2 separate regions of the Homo sapiens genome follow, and region 2 is linked to region 1. The links are contacts of gene promoters, found by promoter capture Hi-C in human tissues and cell types (Jung and others, 2019). All regions are on one chromosome and are shown on one strand. Each heading gives the region's core, a stretch centred on a gene start or on the middle of the fragment in contact. The rest is flanking DNA. Distances are from core to core; before and after follow the strand shown. Region 1 holds the start of TESC (tescalcin). Region 2 overlaps FBXW8 (F-box and WD repeat domain containing 8).

Evidence for each region. The method cuts DNA at HindIII sites, captures the fragments that hold promoters and counts their contacts. A contact is called where the count stands out against the background at its distance.
Region 2: a contact is called between a fragment that was not itself captured here and the fragment with the promoter of TESC in region 1, in 1 of the 25 tissues and cell types used here (spleen).

What each region holds. Positions count from the first base shown.
Region 1 is chr12:117,095,317-117,100,665 of GRCh38, reverse strand. It overlaps TESC (tescalcin), which reads left to right and starts at 1,250. Exons shown (of 8, transcript NM_017899.4): 1 at 1,250-1,441. The coding sequence starts at 1,384. TESC-AS1 (TESC antisense RNA 1) reads right to left here and starts at 1,199. Exons shown (of 3, transcript NR_120464.1): 1 at 1,022-1,199; 2 at 26-213. RefSeq lists silencers at 34-251, 1,118-1,256, 995-1,514, 1,575-1,684, 1,755-1,854. The HindIII fragment of the contact is 11,228 bases long and covers 1-5,349 here.
Region 2 is chr12:116,918,886-116,923,886 of GRCh38, reverse strand. All of the region lies in intron 1 of FBXW8 (F-box and WD repeat domain containing 8), which reads right to left. Among named protein-coding and RNA genes, the nearest start is that of FBXW8, 10 kb to the right of the region's middle. The HindIII fragment of the contact is 5,174 bases long and covers 1-5,001 here.

The DNA.
Region 1 (5,349 bases), core at 1-2,500:
ATCGAGACTAACGTTCAGAACAGACCTGATACCTGACGGTCATTGATGGTGGTGTCACTAAGCACTGCAGAGCCTTCAGGAGAGCCTTGACCTTGATGTTCTGCCCTGGCTGTGTGCCTCTCCAGGGGACAAGATTCCATAGCGCCCACCAGCCTCTGTGGCCATGTGCTGTGTCCACGCCAGGCCCTCTGGTGGACATCTCATTAACTTATCCTTATTTTAAGGAGGAGGAATCACATTACACAGGCAACAGCATCGGCCCCAGTCACCCCAACTGGATGGAGAGCCAACCCCTCAAGCCATCTTAACCCAGAACTTCCCTAATGGGCATGGGGACCACCGGCATTGCCTTCTCTCCAGCAGTTTGTCCCAAATGCAGCCTCCTGGGCCCACTTCTGCAGTTGTTTTTTTGTTTGTTTGTTTTTTGAGACAGAGTCTTGCTCTGTCGCCCAGGCTGGAGTGCAGTGGCAAGATCTCAGCTCACTGCAACCTCTGCCTCCCAGGTGCAAGTGATTCTCCTGCCTCAGCCTCCGGAGTAGCTGGGATTACAGGCATGTGCCACCGCGCCTGGCTAATTTTTGTGTTTTTAGTAGAGACGGGGTTTCACCATGTTGGCCAGGCTGGTCTCGAACTCATGAGCTCAAGTGATCCGCCCGCCTTGGCCTCCCAAAGTGCTGGGATTACAGGCGTGAGCCATGCGCCCAGCCCGCTCCTGCAGTTTGAGGTGCCTCTCAGCCACCGGGCTGTGCAGGGCCCACACGGGCCGCCACGTGGGTGTGTTCACCTCAGAAGGTGCTGGGGCTTTCCTGGAAAAAACCAAAGCGCATGGTGCATTTTCAAATAGGATTATTATTACTGTTGTTCTCCATAGAGCTATTTCATGCTCGCTGACTTCCTTGACTATCTCAGTGGAGTTTCCCTCCTAAGATCTGGAGGATGTAAGGTGGGATGGGTTGGGAGTGGGCATAGCACCTCCCAGGGGTCCCACCCCTCCTACCCACGCCCCCAAATTTGCTCACACCTGCTTCCTTCCAGATCCAGCAGGTGTGCGGAAGGGACGAGGTACGTGAGCACTGCTGCACGAACGGGGACTCCAGAGCGGTGGGCTCCGGGGTCCCCTTCCCGGCGGTTTCCGGGCCGGGGCGGGGCGGGGCGCTCCCCTAGCCGCGCAGTGCGCGAAACCGGCGTGCGCTAGGACCGCGGCGCGCCGCCCTCCGCCGTTATATGAGGCCCCGCTCCGGCCCCACGCGGAACCCGCGGCTCCGAGCCTTCGCCGGCGTCCCGACCCGAGGCCGGACCCGAGGCCAGTCCCGCCGCTGCGCAGCCGAAGCCAGTGCGGGGCCTGAGAGGGACGCGCGCCCCGGGGCCCCCGCCGCGGGCACCATGGGCGCTGCCCACTCCGCGTCTGAGGAGGTGCGGGAGCTCGAGGGCAAGACCGGCTGTGAGTACCCGCGGGGGGCGGCGCGGGGACCGGGGCGGGACCTCCGAACGGCCACTGTTGGGGACCCCGGCCCGCCGCCGCGCTGTGTGACCTTGGGCCAGTGGCGGGCCCTCTCTGCGCCTCAGTCTCCTCCTCTTTCAAATGGGTCCCCGCTGGCCACCTCGCGGGCTGCGGCGAGGAGCTCCGCGGCGATGCTCAGTGCCGCAGCCGCTCAGCTTCGGACTGGCCCGGGAACTCCCTGGCCGGGGGACTGCGGACCGGGGAGGGAGCGGGGCCCAGGCTTCCCAAGCGCAGGGCAGGTGCCTCAGGCCGGGCGGGCAAGTCCCTCAGGCACCCCCGCTGGCGCGCGCGCCCCACACCTGAGAGTCGTTTGCATTCGTGAGCGCGAGAGCGGAAAGTTTTGAAGTCGGCGGACCTGGGTGGGAACAGGTCTCCGACGCTCCCCGGCCGGGTGACCTTAGTCGGGAGAGCCGGCGCCCGGCGCCTGCTTTCGTCCTCGCATCTGTAAAATGGGTTCAGGCAGCCTCATCCCCGCGGGTGGCTGGGAGACTTAGCGAGGCAGCGGCCGCAGAGCACTTTGCCCGGAGCCCAGCGTCCTCCCCTGAGTTCGCTGAGTCTCCCGGGACCAGCAAAGGCTGCGCGCCCCGCATCGGCCCGGAGGCGGGGAGCCCTGGGAGGCCTGGCCGAGCTGCCCGCAGGGAAATGGCGGAGAAAGCGCTTCTCTGCCCGAGTTCAGCCGGGCTGGGGACTTGGCCCTGGGTCCTGAACTCGGCATGGCCAGTTCTGCCTCTGGCTGTGGACCAGGGTGTGGACTGGAGACCGCGGGGGCCAGGTGTGTGGGCAAACCGGCTTTGGCGAGCGACAGACCGGCTGTGAACCCTGCCAGCTGCACTTCCTGGCTGTGTGACCTTGGGCTAGTCACTTTACCTCTCTGATTCTCAGCTTTCCTTCTCTGTTGTAAGAGTTCTCCTAGTACCTGGTAGACGCTCAGGAAATGGGAGCTGCAGATATTTTGGGAAAGAGCTAGCTCCTGGCACCTGCTTCAAGTGCAGAGAACCAGCGTCCAGTATTGATCACCAAGAGAGGGTGGCCCAGCTGTTTGTGTGTCAGCTGAAAAGCAACCCCTCTTGACCCCCAATCTAAATACCCCTTTCCAGGAGAACTGGATGAAAATTGCAGAAAACCATTAATAACTGGTGTGTGTATGCACGCACTTATACGTCTATATCTGTATCTCTGTGTGTGTAGAGATATAGAAATATCCAACTAAAGAAGTAAAAGGTGTGGCTCAGCATATATAATATGGTACCCTTTTTTCTGTTTTTTAAAAAAGGATCCTTTGAGCTGGAGCCGCAAAGTAAAAAGAAATAGAAAATGTAAAAAGAGGGGAAAATAAGAGTATACATTTGTAATTGCTATATTTGCAGACTGGAAGAATCCACCAGAAAGTACGAATGGATGCTTGGTGGGGGTTGCGGGGGGAGTGGAAGGGATGAAGGGAGAGTGAGCTTTTTCTCCGTAAACGTTTTTATATGTTCATTTTGAACTATGTTGGATATTTTACTTACTCAAAAAGTTTTATGCACTTCAATCCGAAGACTAATATGAGAGAGAAAGGAGGGATTCCTCTAGCTCTTACTTGCTTGGGTCTCCTCTGCTTTTATTATTTCTCATGTGCCCTCTCCTCGCCTCCCACTGCTTTGAATCTGGATGGGTGTCGATGGGCATTCTCTGTGGCTGGGATCCCCGTTGGAAGGGTGGGCTCTCCGGCAGCCCACGGGGCACTCGGGAATTCCACCTGGTTGTGGGTTTGACAGGGAGGAGGGGCTGCAGAGCATGCTGGGAGTCTTGTCAGTTTCCTGGGTCCAGCCTCCCACTGGGATGACAGATGCTGTGTTCCTGCTCTGTAACCTTCCTAGATGTAGCTGCAGCGGCTTCCCTTCTTGCTGCCCAGAGCTCAGACTTCATAACCCAAGGGAGATGGAGAGGGTCGGAGAGGAGGTTCTGAGGTTAGACTAGAGTAGGCAGGTGGAACTTTAGGTAGGTGGAAAGTTGCCCCCAGTCCTCCGAAAGGGACTGCGTAATTCGGTCACTTTTGCCCACTTAGCAAATATTTATAGACCAGGGGCTGGGGATTTAGAGATGACTCGGAGAGGCTGCTGTTCCTGGAGGGGGACACACAGTAAACAAAACGCCCGACAGGTGTTAAACTGTGAACGAGGCATAGCAGGGTGGCATGAGAATGGAGCTTTAGGGTGGATCCGGAGGTCCTCCCTGAGGAGGTGATAATGGAACAGAAATCCAAGTAAGAATGAGCCAGGGGTGTGCAAATCAGTGGAAAGGGCATCTCGGGCCGAGGGGACGTCGAATGCAGAGGCCCTGTGGCAGGGACAAGCCAGCAACAGTAAATAAGAATGCATGAGATGAGGACACAGCTGTCGTCAGGGCTCAGGCTGTGGCAGGAGCCTGGCTTCAGGGGCCTTGCCAGGTACCTTGGGCAAGTCACTTATGCTCTCTGAGCCTCAGTTTTATCTACTATAAAATGGGCATAGTCATAGTACCTCCCTTGAAGTTGTTGGGAAGGATTGAGTTAATATACATGAAGTAGTTAGACCAAACACATGTACATGGTTTGTTATTGACCATGCTTTAAACACTCTTGTATGTCCTGGTCGCTCCGAGCCATAGCTGAGAGTTGAGTCTTGGTCCCACCTCTCTGAGCTACATGACCTTGGGCAAGTCATCTTACTTCTCTGAGCCTCAGTACCCCCACCTGGATCCTGAAGTCATTGTGTGGATTTGATAAGGTTACGTGCGAGACGATCGGCTTGGCATGGGAACGTCAGCTCCCAGAGACCCAGTGGGTCAGGCAGGGCCCTTCCTCCAAGGCCATTCCCTTGGGAATCTTCCCTGAGAAAAAGGGAGAAAAGCCTCAGGGTAAGGTGGCCAGAGGACAGACTGAGCCCACAGGGCTGCTGACTCCCCCGCCTCCCTGAGGACCAAGATGACCCCTGACTTTCTGGGGAGGAATCAGCTTGGTCCCTTTCTGAGAACACCATCCAGAAAGGACCAGAAGGTCAGGCTGAGGCTGGTGATAATGAACATAATTCCCCAAGCACCTGCTGAGCATCAGGCTCCACGCTGGTGCTCTCTGCATAACACTCTTTATAGTAATGATCCCCCAGGAAGGCAGTGTTAGGGCCATTTTACAGGTGAGGAAACTGAGGCTTAGAGAGGTAAACCAGCTTGCCTGCAGTCCCACAGCTGCTAAGTGGAGGAGTTGGAGATCATGGGATCCCCAAGCCTACTTTCTTTTTTTACAGTTTTTTTTAATTTTTAGTTTTTGAGGCAGGGTCTTGCTCTCTCACCCAGGCTGGAGTGCAAGGGGCATGATCAAGCTCACTGCAACCTCGAACTCCTGGGCTCCAGCGATCCTCCCACCTCAGCCTTCCCAGTAGCTATGACTGCAGGTGTGCGCCACCACACCAGCTAATTTTAAATTTTTCTGTAGAGACAGGGGTCTTGCCATGTTGATCAGACTAGTCTCAAATTCCTGGCCTCAAAGTGATCCTCCCACTTCAGCCTCTTGAAAGCGCTGGAGTTACAGGCATGAGCCACCATGCCTGGCCCCAAGACTGCTTTCTTACTGCCAGCATGCTTTCACTGTGTGTAGCTGCCACTTGAATTTCTAGGAACCAAGAAGGGATAGGAAAAGACTCCCGTATTTTTTCTCACCTTCAGGCCTTTGCACAAAAGCTGTTCCTCTGCCTGGAGCACTGTTTTCATTTGATGTGTACAATCAGGTGTTTACGTACGGGAGCCTTTCTCTGTCTCCACCCAGGGTAAGGTCTAGGCCGGGCGTGGTGGCTCACGCCTATAATCCCAGCACTTTGGGAGGCCAAGGCAGG
Region 2 (5,001 bases), core at 1,239-3,738, 180 kb after region 1:
TAGCCGGGCCTGGTGGCAGGCGCCTGTAGTCCCAGTTACTCAGGAGGCTTAAGTAGAAGAACGGCGTGAACTTGGGAGGCGGAGCTTGCAGTGAGCCGAGATCGCGCCACTGCACTCCAGCCCGGGCGACAGAGCAAGACTCCGTCTCAAAATAAATAAATAAATAAATTAATTAATTAATTAAAAATACAAAAAATTAGCCGGGTGTGGTGGCAGGCGCCTGTAGTCCCAGCTACTCGAGAGGCTGAGCCAGGAGAATGGCGTGAACCCGGCAGGCAGAGCTTACAGTGAGCCGAGATCGCGCCACTGCACTCCAGCCTGGGTGACAGAGCGAGCGAGACTCTGTCTCAAAACAAAAAAAAAAAGAAAATAATTTTGCAGTAGTTGAATAGCTCTCAGCAATGTGAGACTGGCCAAATTTATTCTATAGGAAACCAATAAATTCAAAATATTAGTATTCCTTCAATGTTAAGGAAAAGTATCTGTTTGATAACATACAACCTTGCTTTTAATTCTTTGACAATGTCTCAGATATCGATTCTCTACCACTATTGGGGACTTTCGTCCTGTATTACACATTAAAATCACCTGTGGAATTTAAAAAAAAAAATGCCAAGGGCCCTACCAAGACCTACTGCCCTGAATTTCCAGGGTTAGGGCTCAAGCACCTCCTTTTCTTTTGAGACAGAGTCTCGCTCTGTCGCCCAGTCTGGAGTGCAGTGGCACGATCCTGGCTCAATGAAACCTCTGCCTCCCAGGTTCAAGCGATTCTCATGCCTCAGCCTCCCAAGTAGCTGAGATTACAGGCACACATCACCACATCTAGCTAATTTTTGTATTTTTTAGTAGAGACAGGGTTTTGTCATGTTGGCCAGGCTAGTCTCGAACTCTCGGCCTCCACCTGCCTTGGCCTCTCAGAGTGCTGGGATTACAGGCATGAGCCACTGCACCCGGCCTCAAGCACCTCTTTCTCAGGCGATCCTCATGCACACTAAAAGTTGAGAACACAACCATACATCATAGGCAGATATAAAAATCTATCCATCCCCTTTTTCCTAGTCAAGGGAAAAAAAACACACACACACACACTCAAAGGGGTCATATTACTTATTTAATTTAAAGTCAGTGAATACTAGATTTTCCCAAAGTCTACTGGACTTACTCCAAAAACACTGAGAGAAATTGCAAAGAGATCCATCCCCAGGGAGGCTGATTTGTATTCCTATGTGCTAATGTAAGACTAATTCTGTAAATGGATTGGTTTTGTGCCTTACTGTTAGAAATTTAATCTGTCTTCTCTTGTTTAATAGAAGAACAGATAATTACTAAGAGCCAAAGCAGTAAAAAGTGAAGAAACTGACTTAAGGTTTTTGTTCCCAATGTACATCTCCAGGGCAAAGAGGACATGAAAGATCTCTCTGGGTGGTGGTTTAAGAAACTGAGAAAAGCACCTTGAGTTCAAAGAAGAGATTTGCAATAACATTTTTACTAAATCTATGACTGAAACTAGTTTCTTTAGGCGTTTATCTCAACTTTCCATGTACTGCAAAAGCTGAGTGGAGTAGACCCACACAATCTCAATCAGAAGAAATAGATGAGTTTCAGTTTCACCTGTGTCTTCTTTGAGAAGAAAAAAACTGGTTGGCTGGGGGAAAAAGGTCTGAAAGGCAGTCGAGATAAATAAGCATCCATTTATAATCCACAATTTGTCTCGAAATATATATTCTTATATACAAAAAGAAAAAAAGTCAGAAATAGGCCAGGCACAGTGGCTCATATCTGTAATCCCAACACTTTGGGTGATTGAGATAGACAGATCATTAGGGGCCAGGAGTTCAAGACCAGCCCAGGTAACATAGTGAGACACTGTCTCTAGACAAAATAAAAATAAATGAGCCAGGTGTGGTGGCATGCACCTGTAGTTCCAGCTACTTAGGAGGCTGAGGTGGGAGGATAGCTTGAGTATGGGAGGTCAAGGCTACAGAGCCATGATCACACCACTGCACTCCAGCCTAGGCAAAAGCGAGAGAGAGCCTGTCTAAAAAAAAAAAAAAAAAAAAAAAAGTCAGAAATACACCAAAATGTTAACAATGGTAGCCTCTAAGCAATTATATTACTAAAGACTTTTATTTTCTTCTATTCTTCTGAATTTCCTAAATATTTCTACAGTGAGCACATGATATTTTCACAGACACAGAAAAGCAACACATTTTTAAAGTAAGGTAACTTATGTTCAAAATACTATCTAAATTCAGGGCCACACCAGGTGCTAGGGGGAGGGAGGTGCTGTTAGCAAGTATATAAGAAATGGTCTACACTCAAAGAGCTAAAATCTTTTATAGAGGTAAGTCATTGTCACGTAAAATGAAATACAGGAGACTACAACAGGCAATATAGATCGTCCCCTAAGGTACTCCAAAGTTCATTAGTAAGCCAGCCATATAGAAGCTGGAAAACATTTCTCCAAACAAACAATGCTACAAAGAGCGGCTAAGCTCCCAAGCAGTCCACAAAAAAACAATTCGTCTCTTAACATTTAACCTAATCCCCATGCCTAGCTATGAGGAAGAGCAAAAGGTATTCAATAAATGTTTGTTGATCACATGTGCGGGTGATATAAGTGAACTATAATACTATAGAATCTAACCAGCTCAGTGCATTGCACACAGTAGATGCACAATAAATGTCCATGGAATTTGATTTATCCTTTTTTTACGAGAATAGGCTTTCCAGCTTCAAGACATATTCTCACTCTCCTGGGGACTCTGGCAAGGAAAGAAGGTAGAAGATGCCAATCTAAAGAAATGCAAGTGCTGGGGGAAATCCCAGGAGGCTGGGTGTGGTGGTGAAGGAGGGTGGTGTGAAGCAAAATGGGCTGGGCCTCTGCTTTGAGCCCCCTTTTAGTCTAAACTGGGATCTGAGCTTTAGGACATGGCGAGGAGAGAAGACAGGAAGAGGAGAAGCTTCAGGTCCCAGAGGGGTACCACAGTGGGTGTGGTTTTTGAAACCACAGTGGGTTTGTGAAAAGAGTAAAGATGTTCACATTAAGGGTCCCAAACACTGCAGGCACATTCCCACCATCAGGATTGGCTATAGAATTTGGGGGGCCTGTTGGTCACAAATGATTAAGATCATTACAAATGATCAAGGCAACAGAGCATTAAACTAAGTGCGGGTCCTGGTCACCACAGAACCTTTGCACTTGCCCGTCTTGGCCTAGAATCCCCTCCCCCAGATCTCTGTATGTTCACTCCTCACCTCCTTTAGGTTCTCCATGAAATGTGACCTTCCCAGAAAGACCCTGTTGGACAGCACTATTTAAAATTACAGCCCCTCCCCTGGCAGATACACTCTATCCTGTCTGCTTATTTCTTCTCCAGAACATTTATTTATTACCTGACAATTATTTGTCCATTGTCTAACTCCCTCTTCCCCAGAATGTAAGTTACACAAGGGCACAGGCTTTTTTCTGCCTTGTTCAATGCTATATTCTCAGTGCCTGGAACAGTGGCTGGTACCAAGAAGACACTTAATAAATATTTGTGGGATATGAATGAAACCCAAGCTGCTTCAAGCAGCAGACCGTTCCAACAAAGACCGCATGTAAGTCACAAGTTGTTCTAGTATACACAGGCATCATTTCAAAAGGTTCGTAAGTGGAGGCCTGCTAATTCACGAATAACATGAAAAAATGAACAGCACTGAGGATAAGAACTTTTTAGTTGGGGGAAAGGGAGAAATTTGGGCTGGAGAAATCACGGAAGAATTAACACAGGAGACAGAACTCAAGCTGAGCTTTAAAAGGCAGGCAAAGAACAGGAAAGAGGAAAGGAAGTTATTCCAGTTAAGTCAATTCATGAGTACACATTTGGTTTGGTTTGCTGTCTCACTGCATATTAGCCAGAAGAAAAGTGTTCACATTAGGGAGCTTACTTATTTGTGTTTAACTTAAAAACAGAAGAAGGTTAAGCCATTAAATCTATCTTGTTGGCAACACAGATGCAGGATCTGACAGGTTAAATATTGACATGGTGAGTGATAAATATTGGCCAGCAGTATTAAAACTTTCAGCAGACCTAAAACTCCATATCTTAACCTGGAAGGATGCTTTGAATGTTCAAGGGTTCTAACAATCATAGAGCCTTTATAAAGTCGCAGTCAGAAGCAGCAATTTTGCCCACATTATTTCAACTCAACAAACATAGATAGGGCCCCTACTGTACTAGTAAGGCAGGTGGAGTTAGAACAGTAAGGCAACAGATCCTGCCCTCCAGGGATTCACAAGAGGCGGAAGCTAAGGGCTTATCGGTGATAAGCTTCAGTAAAGAGGAAGTAAAATAGCATAGCAAACTCTGAGTACTAACGATAATGGCACCAGCTTACATTTATTGGGCCCTTACTGTACTCCAGGCTCAGTGCTAAGTTCCATGCCTATTTCATTGCCTCTTCACGAGATAGGTACTAACATCATCATCATTTGACAGCTAAGGCAGGGGAAATTAACTTGCCCAAGGCAAACTGGTAACAGCAGAGCCAGAATCTGAACTCAGGTCTGCTTGACTGCAGAGCCCAGCCCCATAGCCAAGACTGTCCTGACTCCATTAATGTCATTCTTTTAGTTAAAAGAAACAAGACTTTAGGCTCTCTGAGGACAAGGAGCCATTCTGTTTACTGCTGATTCCCCAGCACTGAGCTGATCAATGAATATATGTTGGATGAACAGAAAACACAGTCGTCCCCCCTTATCCGCGGTTTTGCTTTCCATAGCATCAGTTACTTACAGTACAGTATTATGAGAGCCCACATTCATATAACATTATAGTATACTGTTGTAATTGTTCTATTTTGTTGTTGCTGTTAATCTCTTACTGTGCCTTGTTTATAAACTTTATCATTGCTCTGTGTATATAGGAAAAAAAAACATGGCATATACAGGGTTCAGTACTATCTGCATTTTCAAGCACCCACCGGGGGTCTTGAAATGTATCTCCAGTGGATAAG